Regions from separate parts of the Homo sapiens genome. Here regions 1, 2, 3, 5, 6 and 7 are each linked to region 4. Evidence: promoter capture Hi-C in 16 types of primary human blood cells and fetal thymus (Javierre and others, 2016). All regions are on one chromosome and are shown on one strand. Each heading gives the region's core, a stretch centred on a gene start or on the middle of the fragment in contact. The rest is flanking DNA. Distances are from core to core; before and after follow the strand shown.

Evidence for each region. Contacts are between HindIII fragments. The CHiCAGO score rates a contact against its expected background, and 5 or more counts as called.
Region 1: a contact is called between the fragment with the promoter of AP2S1 here and the fragment with the promoter of PPP5C in region 4, in 1 of 17 cell types (monocytes). The highest score is 6.2, in monocytes.
Region 2: the fragment with the promoter of NOVA2 here is called in contact with the fragment with the promoter of PPP5C in region 4 in 13 of 17 cell types (M0 macrophages, erythroblasts, neutrophils and 10 more); the score reaches 13.0 in M0 macrophages.
Region 3: the fragment with the promoter of MYPOP here is called in contact with the fragment with the promoter of PPP5C in region 4 in 5 of 17 cell types (endothelial precursors, total CD4 T cells, erythroblasts and 2 more); the score reaches 7.9 in endothelial precursors.
Region 5: a contact is called between the fragment with the promoter of PGLYRP1 here and the fragment with the promoter of PPP5C in region 4, in 5 of 17 cell types (naive CD4 T cells, non-activated CD4 T cells, total CD8 T cells and 2 more). The highest score is 7.7, in naive CD4 T cells.
Region 6: the fragment with the promoter of FKRP here is called in contact with the fragment with the promoter of PPP5C in region 4 in 4 of 17 cell types (non-activated CD4 T cells, total B cells, naive CD4 T cells and 1 more); the score reaches 7.4 in non-activated CD4 T cells.
Region 7: the fragment with the promoter of SLC1A5 here is called in contact with the fragment with the promoter of PPP5C in region 4 in 1 of 17 cell types (non-activated CD4 T cells); the score reaches 5.8 in non-activated CD4 T cells.

Annotation. Positions count from the first base shown.
Region 1 is chr19:46,849,421-46,852,120 of GRCh38, forward strand. It overlaps AP2S1 (adaptor related protein complex 2 subunit sigma 1), which reads right to left and starts at 1,426. Exons shown (of 5, transcript NM_004069.6): 1 at 1,344-1,426. The coding sequence starts at 1,346. RefSeq lists an enhancer at 1,441-1,750. The HindIII fragment of the contact is 13,627 bases long and covers 1,065-2,700 here.
Region 2 is chr19:45,972,521-45,975,328 of GRCh38, forward strand. NOVA2 (NOVA alternative splicing regulator 2) reads right to left here and starts at 1,345. Exons shown (of 4, transcript NM_002516.4): 1 at 747-1,345. The coding sequence starts at 831. RefSeq lists a silencer at 1,511-1,670. The HindIII fragment of the contact is 31,968 bases long and covers 1-2,808 here.
Region 3 is chr19:45,901,229-45,904,165 of GRCh38, forward strand. MYPOP (Myb related transcription factor, partner of profilin) reads right to left here and starts at 1,385. Exons shown (of 3, transcript NM_001012643.4): 1 at 1,342-1,385; 2 at 47-597. The coding sequence starts at 545. RefSeq lists enhancers at 1,148-1,197, 1,628-1,737 and silencers at 1,388-1,437, 1,998-2,077. The HindIII fragment of the contact is 7,646 bases long and covers 1-2,937 here.
Region 4 is chr19:46,345,702-46,348,608 of GRCh38, forward strand. PPP5C (protein phosphatase 5 catalytic subunit) reads left to right here and starts at 1,386. Exons shown (of 13, transcript NM_006247.4): 1 at 1,386-1,516. The coding sequence starts at 1,396. RefSeq lists enhancers at 1,224-1,403, 1,504-1,633. The HindIII fragment of the contact is 16,758 bases long and covers 1-2,907 here.
Region 5 is chr19:46,021,718-46,024,617 of GRCh38, forward strand. PGLYRP1 (peptidoglycan recognition protein 1) reads right to left here and starts at 1,336. Exons shown (of 3, transcript NM_005091.3): 1 at 1,018-1,336. The coding sequence starts at 1,304. RefSeq lists an enhancer at 1-829. The HindIII fragment of the contact is 5,413 bases long and covers 1-2,439 here.
Region 6 is chr19:46,744,583-46,747,474 of GRCh38, forward strand. FKRP (fukutin related protein) reads left to right here and starts at 1,475. Exons shown (of 4, transcript NM_024301.5): 1 at 1,475-1,508. STRN4 (striatin 4) reads right to left here and starts at 1,868. Exons shown (of 18, transcript NM_013403.3): 1 at 1,567-1,868. The coding sequence starts at 1,848. RefSeq lists silencers at 1,414-1,643, 1,854-1,903, 1,914-2,063, 2,104-2,203, 2,244-2,293. The HindIII fragment of the contact is 3,497 bases long and covers 1,110-2,892 here.
Region 7 is chr19:46,787,184-46,790,044 of GRCh38, forward strand. It overlaps SLC1A5 (solute carrier family 1 member 5), which reads right to left and starts at 1,411. Exons shown (of 8, transcript NM_005628.3): 1 at 217-1,411. The coding sequence starts at 782. RefSeq lists silencers at 489-538, 549-598, 1,569-1,728 and enhancers at 1,079-1,680, 1,329-1,623. The HindIII fragment of the contact is 4,388 bases long and covers 1-1,859 here.

The DNA of each region.
Region 1 (2,700 bases), core at 176-2,675, 500 kb after region 4:
GAAAACCACTTCCTAGCAGGGCAGGGGTCCCAGGCAGGAAGGGACGTTGGGGGGCCTACACCAGGCAGCCACAGCCTGGGAGCAGAGCCGGAGACATATTCACACAGTTAGGAGAACTAGAAGCAAACCCACAGAGTTGACAAAAAGCTCTGCCTCTTACTCCCAAATTCCCTTGTATACCTCTCCCTGTTTTCTTCCCATTTGGAATCTCAAGTCCCCTCCGTCCTGAATCTCTGCATCCTCACGCCTCTGCTGTCCCCTCTAGATGCCCCCCAACCTTCCCTGTCTCCAATCCCCCTCCTCTGGAGTTGTTCCCTTTTGACCTCCACTTTCTCAGTCTCAGTTCCCCTCCTTGGGGCCTCAATGGGCTTTTTACTGGTGACATCCCTTGTCCCACTCCCAAGCTTCCTCCCTTCTTCAAAAGGTCACATTTTGCCTCCAAGGACCCTGTTCCTGGAGGAGACTCCGCCCCCGCTCTGACACTCTTTCTCATTCGTTTTCTTTCCCAACTTCCAGCCCAAAGAACCCTTTCCTAGATCCAAAGCCCCAACCTGGGGGATAGGGGCACTCCTAAATCCAATGTTGAGTCTTTGCCCCAACAAAGATTCCTCCCCAGGTCTCACACTTTCAAGCCTACTCCCCACCCCACAAGATCTCTCCTCTTGGAAAGACCTATTCAGTTGCTCCCCATTCTTTCCGAGTGTCCATCTTACCTCCAGGTCCTCTCTCCTTTTACAGCGCTTTCCCAGACCCTTAAGTTTCATTCCCTACAGTTGCCTCCTTTTGGTTTCCTGTGCCAGGTCTCTTCTTGAGATCATCCCTCTCTCACAGGCAGTCTCCTGCCCCTGTCTCAACATCCCCTCTCCACCTGCAATCAGATCCTTGTCTCTAGAGACTCCTCCCATCAAGAAAACCTCCCTCCCCTTTTCCAAGGTCTCGCGTTCTCGTCCCAGCGCTCCCGCCACACTTCCAGAGCGCCTTCCTCTTTCGGACGCCCTCTCCCCACCTCCAATGCCTTCTCGCTACCCACAAGACTGTGTCTCACGAGTTTCCTCTCGTTTCAAAGCTTCCAACCATCTACAACGTTTCCCACCTGCACAGCCCTTTCCCCTTGGAACACCACCCCCAATGCCCGTCGCCGCGAGACCCCTGGTAACCCCCGCGCGCAGAATCACCGCCCTGTGCCCTCCTTCCCGGCCCTGGATCGGTCCCAATCCCCAGAGCCCGCGCCTGACCCAGACCATCCGCGGCAGAGAAGGGACTTGTCAGCGCCCGATCCAGCCTCGGCTATTTACGCGTGGGCCCCCCCTCCGCCAGTCCCCGGCGTAGCGCTCCCCCGTTACCATGGCGACCCCCGTCCAGACCCCAGCGGCCCCGGTCCCGCGGCGACTGGGCAGCTCCGGCTCAGGGTGCAGTTGTAGGGCCCAGAGCTAGAGCGGACTTCCGGTAGAAAAACCCGCCTGCCTTCTCGCGCACAGACCCCTGGGAGTTGTAGTTTCACCAAAGGGGCCAGCCTGGGTGAAGATGGGTGAAGAGTCAGAGCCAGTCCTTTTCCTACCAAACGAGTCAGATCCCAAGTGCATGCTGGGATTTGTGGACAAACATCTTTACAGAGGACTACAATTCCCGAGATGCTGAAGAACCAGCGGTGAAGGCGTTGCATTCAGGGAAATGTAGTTCTCTTAGGTCCCCTCCCCCCACCCAGGGGAGAAGGGCATGCTGGGAATAGTAGTTTTAAATTTTAAAAAACTGTCCTGGGGAGATAGAAAATGTCTTTCCATTCCTCATCCAGTGATTTCTTTAATTTTTTTAAAAATAGAGACAGGGGTCTAGATATATTGCCTAGGTTGATCTCGAACTCAGCTTCAAGCGACCCTCAGCCTTCCAAATCACCAGGATTACAGGCATGAGCCACCACAACACCAAGCCAGTGTTTTGCTTAAAATACGTTGCGTGTGTCTCTCGGGAGACAACAGTTTAAAAGCATAAATTTGAACCGGCCCGGCGCGGTGGCTTACTCCTGTAATCCCAGCACTTTGGGAGTCCGAGGCAGGCAGATCACTTGGTTAGGAGTTCGAGACCAGCCTAGCCAGCATGGCGAAACCCCATCTCTACTAAAAATACAAAAAATTAGCCAGGCATGGTGGTGCGCACCTGTAGTCCCAGCTACTCGGGAGGCTGAGGCAGGAGAATCACTTGAAGCCCGGAGGCAGAGGTTGCAGTGAGCCCAGATCTCGCCACTGCACTCCAGCCTGGGCAATAGAGAGAGACTCCAAAAAAAAAAAAAAATCTCTAGTTTGGCGGGGGCATGATGGCCCATGCTTGTAATCCCAGCACTTTGAGAAGCTGAGGTGGGTGGATCACCTAAGGTCAGGACTTCGAGACCAGCATGGCCAACACGGTGAAACCATTTCTACTAAAAATATAAAAATTAGCTGGGTGTGATGGCAGGTGCCTGTAATCCCAGCAACTCGGGAAGCTGAGGCAGGAGAATTGCTTGAACCTGGGAGGCAGAGGTTGCAGTGAGCCGAGATCACACCATTGCACCCTAGCTGGAATGACAAGAGCGAAACTCTGTCAAAAAAAAAAAAAACCCTCCAGGTCAGCAGTTAGTTTAGTGTTTTTTTGGTGTGTCTTTGTTTTTGCTTTTTTCTGAAAGAGGGTCTCCCTTGGTCACCCAGGCTGTAGCGCAGTGGCATG
Region 2 (2,808 bases), core at 95-2,594, 370 kb before region 4:
CAAGCACACACCTTTCCTTGTCACACGTACCCGCTGGAGGGTCTCAAACATGGAGCCCAGCCCCTGTCCCCTGTCTTTCTCATACACCCCCCTATGCTGTCATATTCCTGATCCCTAATGTCACACATCCAGGCTGTAGAGGGCACACATACACACACACGCACACACATACACACCTGTCCTAGCCTCACATTCTCCCACCTAGCTTTACACACCCACCATTTCCTCCATTTCACCCCACACACCTACCCAGCCTGTCCCCACGCACGATCCGGCCAGGGCCACACAAGCCTCCATCTGGGACAACCCTTGTTCAGGACATCCCCAGGGAGGGAGGCTGGGAAGCTCCCGGTCCACAGGCCTCTACTCCTTCCCCTCCCCCAGCCAGGACACGCGAGCTCGGGGAACACCCCTGCTCCGAAAGGGTCACATCACACACCCCTCAAGGACACACAGACACCTGCCCTGAGGCTCCCACGCCCCCCATCTTCTGCGCCCCCCAAGGACACTTATCACCCCCTCCCCCCCACCCCTCTCCTCGCAGACAAAGCTCCCAGCCCCGGGCCTCAGCGAGAGGAGGAGGGGGTCCAGCCCCCTCCTCAACTCCCCGCTCTGTCCCCCGCCTCGGGGAGGGGTGTCTCTCCCCTCCCCAGAGCCCTTGCACCTGCCACGGGAGGGGGGGAAAGGATGGAGAAAGGCGAGGCCCCCTGCCCGCTCCCCCGCCCCGAGCCGCAGCCCTTTCTCACCTCCCGTGTTGCTGCGCTTGGTGCAGACCACCTCGGGGGGCGTTTCGAGGGGCCTCTTGCGGGAATCCGGGGCCTCGGGCTCCATGGGGGGGGCCTGGGGCGGCGGCTGCTGCTGCTGCGGCGGCTGCGGCGGCGGCGGCGGCGGCTGCTGTGGCGGCGGCGACGGCTGCTGGGGAGGCTGGGGTTGCGGCGGCGGCGGCGGCGGGGGCGGCGGCGGCTGCGGGGCCGCGGAGGCCGTGAAGAGGCCGTGCACCGCGCCGGCGGCCATCATCCTCATGGTGGGGGGGGGCGGGGGGCGGGGGGCGGGGGAGGGGGAGGGGAGGGGAGGTGGGAGGGGGAGGGGGCGGTGGAGGGATGGGGGAGGGGGAGCCCCGGAGAGGGAAGGCGGGGGTAGGGGGGAGCCGGTTCTCGGGGGGCTGACAGAGCCTGGAGAGCGGCCGTGAGCAGGATGGCAGGGCCGAGGGGGGTCTCCGATAGGGCCGGGAAAGAACTGAGAGGTGGGGTCTCTCCTGGGACCACAGAGGCTGGGGACTGGACGCGCCACTGGGGGGACGGGACTCCCCGCTTCTTCTTGGCTCCCTGGGGCAAGAGGGCCGAGCCCCCCAGACCCTGCTCGGGGTGGGGGGCCGGAGGAGCGTGGCCGGAGTGGGAGGCGGAGGCGGCCGCTAGTGGGGGCCCGGGGGGCGGCGGGCGCGGGCGGCGGCGGCGACGGGGCTGGCGGTGGCTGCTGGCCCGAGCATCTTCTTCCCGGAGGCTCCCACAGCGCCTGGCCCCTCCCACCCAACGAGGTCACGCCCATGCCGGGTAGGGCCACGCCCTTCGGCGCCCCCATTGGTCCAGCCTTGAAGCCTGGACCACGTCCCTCTGGGTTGGCCACGCCCCTCCCGGCGGCAGAGAGCTGGACCCGACTCCCCCAGGCTGCTGGGAGGACCCCGGGCTCCTCCAAGCCGTCCCCACTCCTCACCTTGAATGAACGTTTATTGAGCACTTACTGTGTGCCAGGTCCGGTTCCAAGCAAGCACGTCACAGACGTTATCGCATTTACTCCCCAGAGCGACCAGCTCTGTGAGTTACGCTTATTATCCCTATTTTACAGATGAGGAAACAGCCTTAGGAGCTTACTTTGACTTCACTTGGTCAAGACAAGAAATTTCGACTAGGCGCGGTGGTTCATGCCTGTCATCCCAGCACTTTGGGAGGCCGAGGCGGAAGAATCACTTGAGCCCAGGAGTTTGAGACGAGCTGGGCAACAATATTGTGAGACCCCATCTCTACAAAAAAAAAATTTTTTTTTTAATTAGCCAGGCGTGGTAGCACATGCTTGTAGCCCCAGGTACTCTGGAGTCTGAGGTGGGAGGATCTCTTGAGCACAGGAGTTTGAGGCTGCAGTCAGCCATGATCAAGCAACTAGATTCGAGCCTGGGAGACAGAGCAAAACCTTGTCTCAAAAAAAAAAAAAAAAAAGAAAGAAAGAAAGAGAAAGAAATTTCACTTCACTCTTTTTCAATCCTTTCAGCTGGGAAATTCCCCTTCAAATCTTTCATCCATCCTTTGAAGAATCAACACCGTGATGCTGAAAGGGCTCAGAGGATTGAATTCACTGAGCTGGAGTTGCAGCCTGCAGCACCTGCCCTGGGGCACAACTGGCTCTCCATTCAAACAACAGCACTCAGGGCCTACCTACTAAGTGCCAGGCACTGTCCCTGATGCTGCGATACAATAGAGAACAAAACAGCCTTGGCCCTTGTACAGTATTACTACTCATGTCATTAAGAAAAATTTGTTTTCAGATGACAAAGTGGAGGCCTGGGAACATTGAGGGTGGCTTCTTCAAGGGCACACAGCTTGAGAGAGAGAAACTGGGATGAGAACGCAGGACAAGTCCAATTTCAGAGCCCAAAGTCATTGGAACTAGGGTGCCTTTCTTTGGAATGGATCATTGCTATTATTCTGTGTTCCTTGATGCAAGAATTTCCTTCTCCCTGGGTTCTTAACCTCCAAGGAATCTTTCCTTCCTGGGTTGGTCAGAGGCAAGATTAGGCTCAGAAGGGGTCTGGATGCA
Region 3 (2,937 bases), core at 135-2,634, 440 kb before region 4:
AGGCTTGCAACAGCGCAGGCACACAGCCTACTCTGAAGACACTCACCTGCACGTCGGTCCTCCCGGCGGTCTTCCGACAACACGTAGCGCTGAGGGCAGGCGCTTGGGGGCGGCGGCTGTGAAGAGGGGGCCGCAGGGGGCTCCTCCGCCCCAGCACCTGCCCCCGGCGCCGCCACACCTGGCCCCAGGATGGCAAAAATGGTCTCCTCTTCCGCGGAGAAAGCGTCCTCCGCGGCGGGCCCGGCGCCCTGCGTGGAGTGCGGCACGCGAGCGAGCTTCTCCTTGGTGCGGCGCTTGAAGTCGTTCCAGCGCTTCTGCACCTCCTGGCCCGTGCGCTTCCAGCTGGTGATACCGTTGATCTTGGCGGCGATGCCGTCCCACACGCGCCGCCGCTCTGCCACGCTCACCCGACGGCTCTGCGCGCCGTAGAGCTGCGGGTAGTGGGCGCGCACCTCGCGGATCAGGATCTGGTTCTCTTCGAATGAGAAGCGCGGCTTGCGCAACCGGGTGGTTTCCTCCGCTTCGCCCGCCGCCGCCGAGGCCATGGCGCCCCCCGACGCCGCCGTCCTGCCGTCTGGCGCATGGGGGGCGCCGGCGCTGCGGGCAAAGGGCGCACGGGGCTGGCTGGGGTTCGGGGTCCCCCCGCCGCCGCCTCTCCCAGACCGCCGGGCCGAGAGCTCCTTAGTCCCCGGGGGCAGGAGTGGGGGCGGGGGGCGGGCGGGGGCGACGGGCACCCGGGTAAGTCGGAAGCGCCTAAGAGTAGCTGACACCGGCTGAGCGCTTGGCTCGGACTTCGCGCGGCGCGAAGTGCCACGCTGAAGAGTTGATAGAAATTGGGGGAGGGTCTGGAGGGATGGAAGGAAAGGAGGAAAAGTGCGAGGAGAGGAGGTGTCTGCAGGAGTTAGAGAATGGGGGCACGGGAGGATAGGAAATGGAGGGAGGATGGGGGTGCCTCGGGGGGGTCTTAGATGCATGAAGATAAGGAGATGCGGAAGGGGGGATGCAGCAAGAAGGGGGGAATCTGGAGCAGAGGAGGCGCTCTAGGGGCTCTAGGGGGCAACGGGGCGTCTGTAAGACCGATATGAGAAGGGCCCTTAGAGGGATGTCCAGGAATAATGGTGAGGTGGGAGCTCCTGTATCACTGGAAGAGCTGGAACGATCAAATATTAGGGATCAGGGTCTGCGAGGATTGTGGGGGCTCTGGGGATTGCCAGAAATTAAGGGGAGCTCTGGAAATAACGGGGGTCCCGTATCACAAGGAGACAACGGAGGCTACGGGGGACGGCAGGGAGAGCGAAGGTCGCGGAGGGTGGGGACCGAGTCGGGCCACGGGTCACTCACCGGCTCCGCCGCAGCCGCCGGTGGGTCAGGGCTCGGGCTTCTGCGGCCTGTTCCCACCCCCCGCCTCCCTCCCTCCCCTCTTTCGGCCCCGCCTCCGGCCGCCCCGCATGCCAAGGCGCAGGCGCGCCCAGGGCCAGTCGGCCCCAATGCCCTTACCGCCAGGGTTTCATTCCCACCTACCCCAGCACAGCGCAGGCGCAGAACTGCGCTCCGCCGAGCCCCACCAGCAGGCCGCAACTGCGCAGCCGCAACGTTAGCGCCGCGCGGGTACCCCAGCTTCCTGGGGCCACAACGGCGCACGCGCAAAAACTCCATCGCGCGCATGCGCGTGCCTCGGGTTGTACCCGGTACCGGGTCTCGGCGCAGGCGTTGCGAGCTTGGATGGGAGAGATGCTGGGAGCGCGCCAGTACCCAACCTTTCGGACAGTCTTCCAGCCCACCCTGCCCTCTAACCAAAGGGGAGGGAGACAGCGCTGAAGGGAAGCGCTTTGTCTCCTTGACAACTGTGTGGGTGGGGTGGAGGCGTGAGGAAACCGCTTTGCCTCCTGGCTTGCCCGCCCCTGCGCTGGGCCGCTCCAGAGCTTCCCACCTCGCACCCCTAGAGGCTGGGCGTCCTGGGGATGTCCCGCCCCGGGCGGATGCAGTAACCATAGCGACCCACAAGCCTTCCAGTCACGCCTTGGGGGCCCCTCTGTGCGCACCTTTACCTCGAGGAGCGGGGAAAATAAGAGGGAAGAGCTTCCTGGCTGGTAGGAAGGGAGATCCTGACGCCGGCACGACTTTAAGCAAGTGCATGGAGACAGGAATGAAGCCAGAACGCAGGTGGGGTGAGCCGCATGGCAGGATGATGGAGCTCAGTCCGGCTGAGAAGTGTGTTCGTTAGCATCCTGCAGGAGTCCTCAAGGTCATTCGACAATTGGTGCTTCATTCATCGACTCAATAAATATACATGAGCACTTACACAGTTCCTGGTACAATGAACATAAAAGCTAAAATCCGTAGCCTGGGCCGGGCGCGGTGGAGCTCACGCCTGTAATCCCAGCACTTTGGGAAGCCAAGGCGGGCGGATTACCTGAGGTCAGGGGTTCGAGACAAGCCTGGCCAACACAGTGAAACCCCATCTCTACTGAAAATACAAAAACTAGCTGGGCATGGTGGTGCATGCCTGTAATCCCAGCTACTCGGGAGGCTGAGGCACGAGAATCGCTTAACCCCGGGAGGCAGAGGTTGCAGTGAGCTGAGATTGCACCACTGCACTCCACCTGGACGACAGAGTGAGACTCCGTCTCAAAAAAAAAAAAAAAAAAAATACATGCCTGTAGTCCCAGCTACTTGGGAGGCTGAGGCGGGAGGATCGCTTGAGCCCAGGAGTTGCAGGCTGCAGTGAGCTATGATCAGGCCACTGCTCTCCAGCTTGGGCAACAGAGTAAGACCCTGTCTCAAAAGAAGAGAGAGAGAAAAAAAAGGCCCCTCTGCCTGCTGTGTGGAGGGTGGGTGGGAGGGAGCAAGACTACTGGGTAGAGTCAAAAAAAGTCATGAGCAGGGGTAAGAAAAGGATTAGGAAAGCGAGGGGAGACTAAACTAAGACAGGGACAG
Region 4 (2,907 bases), core at 136-2,635:
GTAGGAGAGATGGGGTTGGACTAACAAGAGGTTTGGGAGTGGGATAGATAGGTTTAGGAGTGTGCTTCCAGGAGGGGATCCAGAGCCTTACAGGACTTAGTGCTACATGAGGGCTTAGAAAGGACAGACTGGAAGCGTGTACGGCGGGTGGGGATTGGCAAAGGGGTGGAATCTGGATATTAGACTATTCAGCCTGAGGTTAAGACTATTCAGGGTCTCCTAATCAGGAGTTTGGGTTTTCTCCTAAGGGTGCTGGGGCCATGGAAGCCTGGGAGCGAGAGTGTGCCATGGTTTTATCATGTCTTAGAAAGATCCCTCGGCCGGGCACGGTGGCTCACGCCTGTAATCCCAGCACTTTGGGAGGCCGAGGCGGGCGGATAGCTTGAGGTCGGCAGTTCGAGGCCAGCCTGGCCAACGTGGTGAAACCCGTTTCTACTAAAATACAAAAATTAGCCGGGCATGGTGGCGGGCGCCTGTAATCCCAGCTACTTGGGAGGCTGAGGCAGAAGAATCGCTTAAACCGGGAGGCGGAGGTTGCAGTGAGCCTAGATGGCGCCACTGCACTCCAGCCTGGGCGACAGAGGGAGACTCCCTCTCAAAAAAAAAAAAAAAAAAAAAAAAATGTGAAGGGTAAACTGGAGGGAGGCAGAGTGCATGCAATCAATGCTGTGATCTCAGACAAGAGAATCTGTAAAAACACAAACAGGAGAGTTTATTTGAAGATTCAGGATTTGGGAAGCTGAACACAGGAAGAAAGGAGATGGTGCAACACACTTCTAAGCCTTGCTCAGGACTTGAAATCCAGAGTGCCTTCAGTTAAAAACTCAAACACTGACCCTCAAGGTTGGACCCTTTTTGGCTTGAGAAACCACTAATTTTTCAGAGATGGGTAACTGAGACCCTAGAGAGGAAGGGAAGATTTGTTCAAGGTCACACAGGTAGTCGACAATAGGGCTCGACGCCCGGGTCCGGCTCCGCGTAGGGCATGGCGCTGCCTTGCAAAACAGCCACACCCGCCAGCGACATTCACAACCCACCCCCCAACCCTAGAGGACAGCGGGGAAATCCCACTTTCAGAACCGAGAAACTTTTTACAGCCTTGGAACACGGTAACTTTGGGAGGAGAGGCCACACCAGGTCTGTTTCCCCGCGCGCCCCTTCTCTCATTCCCTATTGGCTCTCTCTACCAGGGGTACCGTCTGGGGAACCTCTGGTCACCTTGTCCTCCGCGCGCTCTGTGGCGAAAGGGACCTGCGCAGGCGCGTGAAGGGCGCCTTCAGGGCCCGCGCTTTACGACACTTGTGCGGCAGCGGCGGCGGCCACCCGGCGCTCCTTCGCGACGGTTCGGCCGGGTGCCGCTGGCGGCCGTTGCCAGGGTAGGGGTCGCTTTGCGGCATGGCGATGGCGGAGGGCGAGAGGACTGAGTGTGCTGAGCCCCCCCGGGACGAACCCCCGGCTGATGGAGCTCTGAAGCGGGCAGAGGAGCTCAAGACTCAGGCCAATGACTACTTCAAAGGTGCGCCCGCCTGGCAGGGAGGGTGGACAGTGGCCCAGGCTGAGGGGTGCCGGGCCCGCGCGGAACCATAGCAACGCGGAGCTGCAGCCTGGGCGCGGGGCAGACACTACCAAGTGACCGGGCGTGGGGAGGCCCAGGATGGCGCTGCCAAGGAGCGACATAGGGGGCTTCGGAGAGTGATACCTAGGAGTGGCGTGCGGAGCGGGTGCTACTCAGTGGAGAGACTGAGGAGGGCGCCACCAATTGTGGGGCGAGAGGGGGACTGGAATGAGGGCGCTACCAAACGTGAGGCCTGTAGAGGGCGCTACCAGGCAGTGACATGTGGTGGGGGAGTGATTGATGGCGCTACCAAATGGGGAGTCCTGGGGTGGGTGCCGCCAAGTGGGGGGTAGAGGGGGCACAGCCCCAATAGAGAAGGCAATCGTGGGGGTGGGGAATGGATCATTAGATGGGGGGAACAAGGAAGTAGGAGATTTGGGCTGACCCGAGGAAAAGGAATGTGATGGTGGGGGCCTTGGGAGTAAGGGTGGGGATCCTTAAGAATAGTATCACTTAGAATATTGAGAGTCAAGTGTGGGGCACCCATTCATTCATTAATTCAACAAATATTTATTGAGTACCTGTTATGTGCCAAGGACTGTGCTTGACTTTGGGGATATAGCAGTGAATGAGACAGATGTGGCCCTGTCCTTAGCTTGTAATTTTGCAGGTGAACCAGACATGAAAAAAAAAAAAACAAAAAAAAACCATGTAAATAAGTAAAATACTTAAATTGTGATGAGTGCTTTGAAAGCAAACCAGCAGTGTGATGAAGTAGAGAATAAGGGTTGGAGGCTACTTTAGATAGGGTAGTGGGGGAAGGCCTTACTGAGCAGGAGGCGTTTAAGCTGAAACTCACAGAGGGAGAACTGGAGAGGAGTGTTCCAGGGAGGTAAAGCAGCCTGTGCAAAGGCCCTGGGATGGGGAATGAAAGGGTACTGGCATGGCTGGGGCTTTGGCTACTTAGGGGGAGACCAATAACAAGATGAGATTAGGACAGAGGCCAGATCATGCAGGGTCTCCGTGAGTCATTACAAAGACCAGTTTGGAATTTTTTTTTTTTTTTTTTTTTTGAGACGGGAGTTTTGCTCTTTTTGCCCAGGCTAGAGTGCAATGGCGCAATCTCGGCTCACTGCAACCTCCGCCTCCCTGGTTCAAGCGATTCTCCTGCCTCAGCCTCCCGAGTAGCTGGGATTATAGACGCACACCACCATGCCCAGATAATTTTTGTACTTTTAGTAGAGATGGGGTTTCGCCATGTTGGCCAGGCTGGTGTCGAACCTCTGACCGCAGGTGATCCGCCCATCTCGGCCTCTCAAAGTGCTGGGATTACAGGCATGAGCCACCACGCC
Region 5 (2,900 bases), core at 86-2,585, 320 kb before region 4:
CCTCCCATGGCTCCCATCTCGGAGTAAAAGCTACAGTCCTCACTGTGGTCCACAAAGCCCTGCCTGGTCCTGCCCTTTCCTCATTTCATTCCGCTCGCCCGGCTGTGTTCAGCCACCCTGTCCTTCCCACAGGACCCGCCCACTCAACCCCGTTGGCTTTGCCCCCAGCACCCCCTGCCACCTGCAGGCCTCTGTCTGCTCCCCCATCCCAGAGCCAAGGCAGCCACTCTCAGGGAGGCTTTCCCTTGCCCCACCCTTCCAAGGAGCCTGTGTGGGTCTGGTCCCAGCCTGAGGTCACCCTCCCTCACCTCTTTCCTTTTATCCATCGCCTCTATCACCGTCTGAATTCACCTGTGGCCTTGGCTTGTTTCTCCCTGCTGGTCTTTCAACCCCAGGAGGCTAGAGTGGCACCGTTCTCCATGCCACATCTGGCACACTGCCTGGCACATAGTAGGTGCCTAATGGTAATAGCCCGTGGCTTTGCGGGCCCCCGTGTGCCAGGCAGTTCCTAGGTGCTTTGCCTGTATTGGCTCATATAAGGAGCAGATGGGCCGCGATTCCATTGACTTTGCCGAGGAGGAAGCTGAAGCCGGGAGGACCCGCCCCAGGCCTCAGCCAGCAATAAGATGAGCTGACCCTGGAACCCAGCTCCGCACTGAGTCAGCCTGGTTTTCCGCCTCCTAACAAAGGCACCAGGCATCAGGAAGGGGCGCCTTCATAAGGCGTCGCGGACACCTTGGTGTGTGTTAGGCAAAGCCTGCCCCTTCTTCCCGGGAGCGGGAGCGGGGCTTGGATTTCAGCCCATCCCCCCTTCTCACGCATCTTTGTGCTGTGAGCACCTGCCCCGGCCCACGTGGTGACCCGAGGAAGAAATGACCTTGTGAGGTTCAGTAAGCTGCTCAGGGTGTCAGCCAGGTGGCCTCAGCACCAGGCCTAGAAATGGTCCCGCTGGCGGGCACTTGCACACCTTTGCCTCTGGGATCCCCAGTCCAGCCCGTGCCCCCCTGCCACACTCACTTGTAGCCCACGTCGCACCAGCCCAGTGTCTTCATGTGGTAGTGCTGCACATTCCGGGCCTGCTGCTGGCACGAGGCGGGGGTGTTGCAGCTGCTGCCCGCCGTGTGCGATACCACCACATAGCGTAAGGGCAGGCTCAGGTGCTGGGCGCACTCTGATGCCAGGGCCTTCCACTCGTTCCGGGGCACTATGGGGCTGCAGCAGGCCGGGTCTTCTGTCTCCTGAGCCGCTCCGAGTCGAAGGAGGCTGGGGAGAGCCCAGGCAAGCAGCATAGAGCGGCGGGACATAGTGGCAGGGCGGCAGGGTCCGGGAGACCGCTAGGAGCGCCCGGTGGAGGGGCCGCCTTTATCTGCTGGGGGATTCCAGGAGTGGCCCGGAAAGTCTTGCTTCACACCCTGCTGGGACTTCCTGCTGGCCCAGCAGACCCCAGACTCAGCTTCCTTCTCTGGCTGGGCCAGGGCGGGATGCACTGTGGTTGGGGTCTGGGTCACGCCCACGGCAATGACAGGCCCCCTCGCTCAGCAGGGAGGGACGCACAGGCCCCTGGGCGCTTCGCCCCGCCGTTTCTGGAAGACCCGGGGCCGGGATCCCGGTCCTGCTTGTCTCTCCTCTCAGTGGAACATTGAACAACTCAACAGGAACTTACATCGCAGAGGCCCGGGGCATTGGCACATCTTCTCCCCGCAAGGACTGAGGTAACAAAGCTACCCATTTTAAAAACACTTCCTTCCCCCAGGTCCAAGCCTGATGCCATTTACGCTTGCAGCAAACTCAAGAGGTGAGTATCTGGAAGTCCATTTCACAGTGGAGTAAACTGAGGTTGAGAGCAGGGAAGTCACGGGCTGAGACACCGGAGGCACTGGAGCCCCGCGTCTAGAGCCAGGCTGCCTGCATGTGAATCCTGGATATGCAGTGTGTGAGAGCCTGCAAGTGGTTTTTAAAAATGTGTATTTAAAATTTTTTTTTTAATTTTCTATTTTATAAATAATATTTTCCTTTTTTTTTTTTTTTTTTTTTGAGATGGAGTTTTGCTCTTGTCACCCAGGCTGGAGTGCAATGGTGCGATCTTGGGCCACTGCAACCTCCGCCTCCTGGCTTCAAGTGATTCTCCTGCCTCAGCCTCCTGAGTAGCTGGGATTACAAGTGCACACCACCACGCCCAGCTAATTTTTATATTTTTGGTAGAGACGGGGTTTTGCCATGTTGGCCTGGCTGGTGTCGAACTCCTGACCTCAGGTGAGCCACCTGCCAGTGTTCCAGAGTGCTGGGATTACTATAGGCATGAGCCACCGTGCCTGACCTGTGTGGTGTGTTTTCATCTTCTGTGTTCTGCCTTCTCATATACATTGTACTCATGCTGTTACTGAATTGTGCACCAGGCATCTGTAGCACTTTTCAGAAATTATCATATACTCAACGACAAGCTTGCCAGATCCATGTTATTATTAACCCCTCTTACAGTTGACGGAACTGAGGCCCGGGGGGATGATCACATACAGGAGGTGATGAAGCCAGGGTTTGGCTACAGGCTTTCTGCCTGCAGAGTTATAAACCGTATTCTCCTCCCTACAAACTTATATAAGGACATTAAAAAAAAAAATCAAAACCATGTGCATCAATTTACCTTTTGTCACCTAATATTTCATGGGCATCTCACCAGGGCAGTACATCTAATTCTAATTTATTCTTTATAATAGTTGCACAATATGCTATAGTATCAGTTCAGCATTGTGGATCTTTTAGTTTTTGAAGGTTTTCCAGTATTTTCTCCACACTACGCAAAATATTTTCAGACATATATCCCTATGCACTGGTGCATTTATAAGTAAATTATAAACACAGAGTTATTAGGTCAATGAGTATACATATTTAATTAATATTAC
Region 6 (2,892 bases), core at 225-2,724, 400 kb after region 4:
CTATGTTGGCCAGGCTGGCCTCGAACTCCTGGGCTCAAGGGATTCTCCCACCTCAACCTCCCCAAGTGTTGGGATTACAGGCGTGAGCCACCGCACCCCATCCCTACCGACACAATTCTCATCAGCTATTTATTTGGGTACCAGCTTCCTACTAGATAGCAAACGGCAAATCGGAAGGGGAAAGGTGGGCTGCTACAAGCAGGTAATGACAATTTCTGCTAATAATAACCCAGTCCAAGAATCTTCAGACTTCCAGCGGGCCATTCCTGATCCCTTCAAATCCGGACATCTCCATGGTCCTCCAGTCACTGCCAATGGACCTGACGCTCCACGAGGTCACAAACCCTAGCCCAACTCCTCAGACTCTTCCATTCAACATCCCTGTCCCAAGCTACCCCAAAAACCACGGGGTCTTTTCCCAAGACTTCCACAAACATATCCCCTTCCCCCCAACCCCAGTCTACCCCCGTTCCGAGATGCCTCCTCATGTTGCCTTCGGGCTCTACAAAATTCTCCCCCCTAAAGCATCACCCCAGGGTAACCCCTAACTCGTCCTCATTGGCACCATCCCAGGACCCTCACCTCCATACTGGACATGCCCAACACCCCACACTCCAGTTCAGGGCTCTCTACCTACATCCTACAACACACGTGCCATCTCAGTGCCATCGCGCCCACTCCTGCACACCCCCAAAGTGGAACTTCCACTCTTAAGCTCTCCCATCCAGGCTCCTAGGGTACATTCCCTGCTCTGTCCACACTTCCACTCCAAAGAACCCTTCCCTGCACTGTGCAGCCACACATGCCCGGGATCCCCAAAGTTTCTCCTCAGAGGGGAAGGCACACACCTTCATCCTGGACCCCTTGAAACCCTCCTCCCACCCCTCGGGTCCTTACACAGCCCTCCTTCCGTGCCCACCGTCCAGTCGCCCCGAAACACACCGATCCCAGGTTCCCGACTTCCTCTCCCTAAATCCTCCCGGTTCCCCATCTGGACCCGCTCTTTCCCAGCGGGTCCCAAGTTCCCCCCTTGGACGCTCCCACCTCCAACCTGCACCTGGCTAGGGCCATGGTCGGGGTCGGGGTCGGGAGTCCCTCGGCGCCCGGCAAGCTTCTGCTTACTCCCACAGGAGACCACTCAGGTCTCCCAGACCCCTCCAGCTCCTCTCCACACCCTTTCCCGAGTTCTCTTAGCCTCCCCTCCAGGGCTCGAGTCGCCTCTCTCAGGAGCCCCGCGGCCAGCGTGCTCAGTCCCAGTCCCAGTCCCACTCCCAGCTGGTTGTGGTCCCTCCGCCCCTTTCTCTCGGCCGGTCCCGGTGATCCCTCCCACCCCCGGTCCCTCCACTCCCACCTCGGGCCGTCCCGGTCCCGTCCCACCCCGGAGTGCCCTCAGGACACCCCTCGGACGGCCCCTCACTCGCCCTCCGGGACCGTCGCGGTCCCCTCCCGCCCCCCCGCCGGCCGTCCCGGCGGCCATTGCTCCAAGATGGCGGCGGCGGCGGCAGCGGGTGAGGCCGGGCCGGGCCGGGCCGGGTTGGGGGTCGGGGGTCCCGGGACAGCGCTCACCTGTAACTCGGCGCGCTCGGCCTCCCAGCGGGCTTTCTCGGCTTCGAAGCGCGCCCACTCGTGCTGGATAAAGTGCAGGATCCCCGGCAGGCTCAGGGGCTCCGGGCCCGCCGTGGGCCCGGGGCTGCCTCCGCCGCCGCCTCCCTTACCTGCCGGGCCCGGCCCGGGGGCAGGGGCGGAGACCGGGGCCGCCCCAGTGGGGCCAGGGCCCGCGCCTGAGCCGAGCGGACGGCAGGAGGAGGCGGCGGCGGCGACCGCGGCGGCCGCTCGCTCCTCCATCATGGAGGCCCCGGGGCCGGCCTGCGCGCCCGCTGTGCCTCGCGCGCCTGCGCGGCCGCGCCAACACCCCCCCCCCTCCCCCGCCGCAACCACCGCGCGCGCGCCCGGCGGGGGACAGTAGGAAGGGGGGCCGGCGGCGAGCGCGAGCCTCGCCCACCCGGGTCTACACCGAAGGGTAGCGTGCCCGCGCGGGGGCCGGCGGGTGGGAGATCGCGCCCCGAGGAGGGCGAGGGAGACCCAGGCCCCGCGCGACGGTCCCCCTCGCTGGAGTGAGACTGAGGAAGGGGCCGCTTTCTGCCCCCCTCCTCCCACTTCGCCCCAGAGAAAGAGCCTTACCCCTTCCACACCCAAACACCACTCTCCTGGACAATTACTTTTACTCTGAGAGAAAGGGCGACCAGCAGTGGCCCCATCCTCTCTGATTGCCGGCCAGGTTGGTTGTCATGGTAACCCTTCCCCAGCGGTGGGGGCGAGGTGGTGGGGAGCAGCCTTCCCCTCGCTTCCACCTTTGTGGTTATGGAGCCCCAAACCTCTTAGGACTCTGCACCAGGAGAAGGTTGCTAAGGTAACCTAAGTGTCCGTGGTGGTCCTTCTGCTCCTATCCTCATTGATTACTATGGCAACCTCCCCCCCACCTAGCATTCAGGTAGAAAGGACCCCAGCCCCAAGGACACTGATCTCTAAGAGAAGCACCTCTTCCCCAGCCCCTCCCCCATAGCCACCTAGTTGGCATTACCATGGTAACCGTCTTCCCCTTCCCATCGTGGGAGGCCCATGCACCAAACTAACCAGGTGTTTTTATTTAGAGGAGATGCTCTGCTGAGGGGCAGTTGCTATGGTTACAGGGCCTGGACCTTCCTCCGGAAGGTGAGAAACAGGCAAGTTCAAGGCCTGGTTACTATGATAATAGAGCAGCCCCCTTCGAGTGACCCTAGGAACCAAGCCCAACAAAGGAGGGGATTTTTTTTTTTTTTTTTTTTTTTGAGACAGAGTGTAACTCTTGTTGCCCAGGCTGGGATGCAATGGCCCAATCTCGGCTCACCACAA
Region 7 (2,861 bases), core at 161-2,660, 440 kb after region 4:
TTATGTACCCAGGCCCCCAGATTTAGAAACCCCTTCCCCAGGAGACTAGACTCACACTCCCGAGGGCTGGAGCCTCCCCTCAATATCCTGTCGAGTTTTCCTAAGACTCTAGAGGGAAGTCTCTGCTCCAGGGGCCCCAAAGCCCCGTCCTGTCCACGTGACCACTCCCGCCATCCGTAACACTCTTCCCCACCTCCCGGGGGAGCGGGAGCTGACCTCGCAAGATCCAGGAACGAATCGAGCACCTCCTTGCTGGGGGCATTTTCGGCACTGCCCGCGGCTCCCACGGAGGCGTTGATGGCGGCGGAGGCGGCGCCCGGCTGCAGAGCCAGCGCCAAGCCCACTCCGAGCGCCGACGCCAGCAGCGTGGTGACCAGGAAAAAGAGCAGCGCCCAGGCGCCCAGACGGCCGAGCGCGCCGGGGTCCAGGCTGGCGGCGCCGCCGATCAAGCTGCACACCACCAGCGGCAAGATGATCATCCGCAGCAGACGCAGCAGCAGCTCGCCCGGGAAGACGAAGGCGCTCAAGCGCTCCGGGCCCAACGCCAGCGCACCCCCGGCCCCCGACACCCCCAGTCCCAGCGCCACGCCGGCCACCACGGCCACCACTGTCAGCAGCACAAGCAGGTTGGCTCGAAGGCAGCGGCGCACCTGGTCCCGGGAACCGCAGTAGCCGCCTGCTGCCGCGCCTTGGTCCTCGATGGAGGCCAGCGCCAGGCCCCCGTTGGCGGTGGGCTCCGCCGCTGCGAGCCCCTTGGAGTCTCGAGGAGGATCGGCCACCATGATGGGAAGCACCGGGGTTTCTTAGCGCCTGGAAGCTGGCTGGGAGCGCTTGGGCTCCTTCCCAGGACCCGACGTTCCTAGGACTGAGTTGAGTAACAGCACCTGGAGACTGGAACTTTGGAGGGCTCCTTAGAGTTGTGAGTTCACAGCACTGAAGTTCCTTGGCTCTTGGAAGCTGGAGTGTTTAAATTCCCCAGGCTGGGCGCTGAGGCTTCTCTGCTCTGCCCCGTGTGCCAGATGTCCGAAAGCTGGGAGTTCGGAGCGCCCGGGTTCCTTGGCCCTAGGAGCTGGGAATACGAGAGTTTCTCTGGGTGGGACGTGGGGCCCTTGGCTCCAGGAGGTTGAGTGCCCCCAGATGGCGGAGGTCTGCAGGAGGCTAGGTTCTGGTGGCGCAGATCCCGGACGCCTGGATCCGGGAGGCGGGGACCCGGGCTGCCTGGGTCTTGGACACTGAGGGCTGGGATGCCAGAATCTGGGGGCCGGGAAGCGGACCTCCGGAAACAGGGGACCCAGGCTCTTAGGTCCGGGAGGGTGGGATGCGGGCCCCTGTGTACGGAAGGCGGTGGTCTGGTGTCCGGGAGTAGCGGTTACCAGCCAGAGAAAGCCTCCCGGGCGTGCCGCGTGGCTCTGAGCCCGTTTAGCGGAAGCTGCCAGGGATAAGGGTAGGGGGCGGGGCTTGAGAAGGCGGGGACCGACCCTCGGGCGCCGATTGGCTGCAGAGCGTTCGGAGACTGGACGAGTAGGGGCGGGGCTGATACCCGAGATGGGCCAGGTCCCCCATAGAAGGCAGATTAATAATACCCATCTCCAGGAGCCGGGCCCAGAGACGACGGGGCGGGGCCAGGAAGGGGCGGGGCCTTGGGAGGGTGCTGTTTCCCGCCAAAGGAACTGGGTTGTGGGTTGGAGCCCTTAAACCACAGGGGTTCGTTCCCTGGTGCGAGGGTCGCTAGAAAGCTCCGGTGGTCCTCGGTGATTCATTTGCAACTCAACTCAGCTTTGGAACTCCTCAGCCCTGAGTTTGGTCTTTAGTCGCCTCTGAGAACTTTAATTCCTCGAATATAAAGTGCAGGTGTTAAAAGCTTTTGTCTCATATGATTGCTGTAAGATTTAAATAAAATTGATGTATTTATTTAGGGAGCCGTGGCTCAAGCCTGTAATCCCACCACTTTGGGAGGTGAAGCGGGCGGATCACTTGAGGTCAGGAGGTCGAGACCAGCCTGGCCAACATGGTGAAACCCGTCTCTACTAAAAATACAAAAATTACCTGGTGTGGTGGCACGTGCCTGTAATCCCAGCTACTGGAAGCCTGAGGCAGGAGAATCGCTTGAACCCCAGAGGCAGAGGAAGTCATTCACCTTGAGGCCACACCTAGAGAGGATGACACGTGCATGCCCACCTCCCAAGCCCCTAACCGCACCCACTCTGCTGCCTCCCCAAATTCTCTGTTAGTGGCCGTTTGGGAGGTTAACAATGAATTATGATTCCTTACTCCACCTGACAGTGTTGAAATCCTCATTCCTTTCCCATCTCTAGCCTGTTCTGTGACATTTCAGGCTTTCATGCTTGCTCAAAGATTGTAGTGGTAATGTCAGAAGCTTCCTCCTACAGCAGCTGTGAGGCCTCAGGTAATTTACAACCTCTATGAGGCTCAGTCTTCATATGTGTAAATGGGAATAATAATAAGTCATACCGCCTTGAGTGTTGCAAGGGTTCAAATGAGATAATACGGCCGGGCGCAGTGGCTCACGCCTGTTATCCCACCACTTTGGGAGTTGATGCGGGCAGATCACTTGAGGTCAGGAGTTCCAGACGAGCCTGGCCAACATGGCAAAACCCTGTCTCTGCTGAAAATGCAAAAATTAGCTGGGTGTGGTGGCACATGCCTGTAATCCCAGCTACTCAGGAGGCTGAGGCAGAAGAATTGCTTGAATCCAGGAGGCAGAGGTTGCGAAGAGCCGAGATCTCACCACTGCACTCCAGCCTGGGTGACAGAGTGAGACTCCACCTCAAAAAAAAAAAAGTTATTTATTTGTGCTTTAAAATTTTTTGTTCTTTCTCTCTTCTTTTGTTTCTAACAAA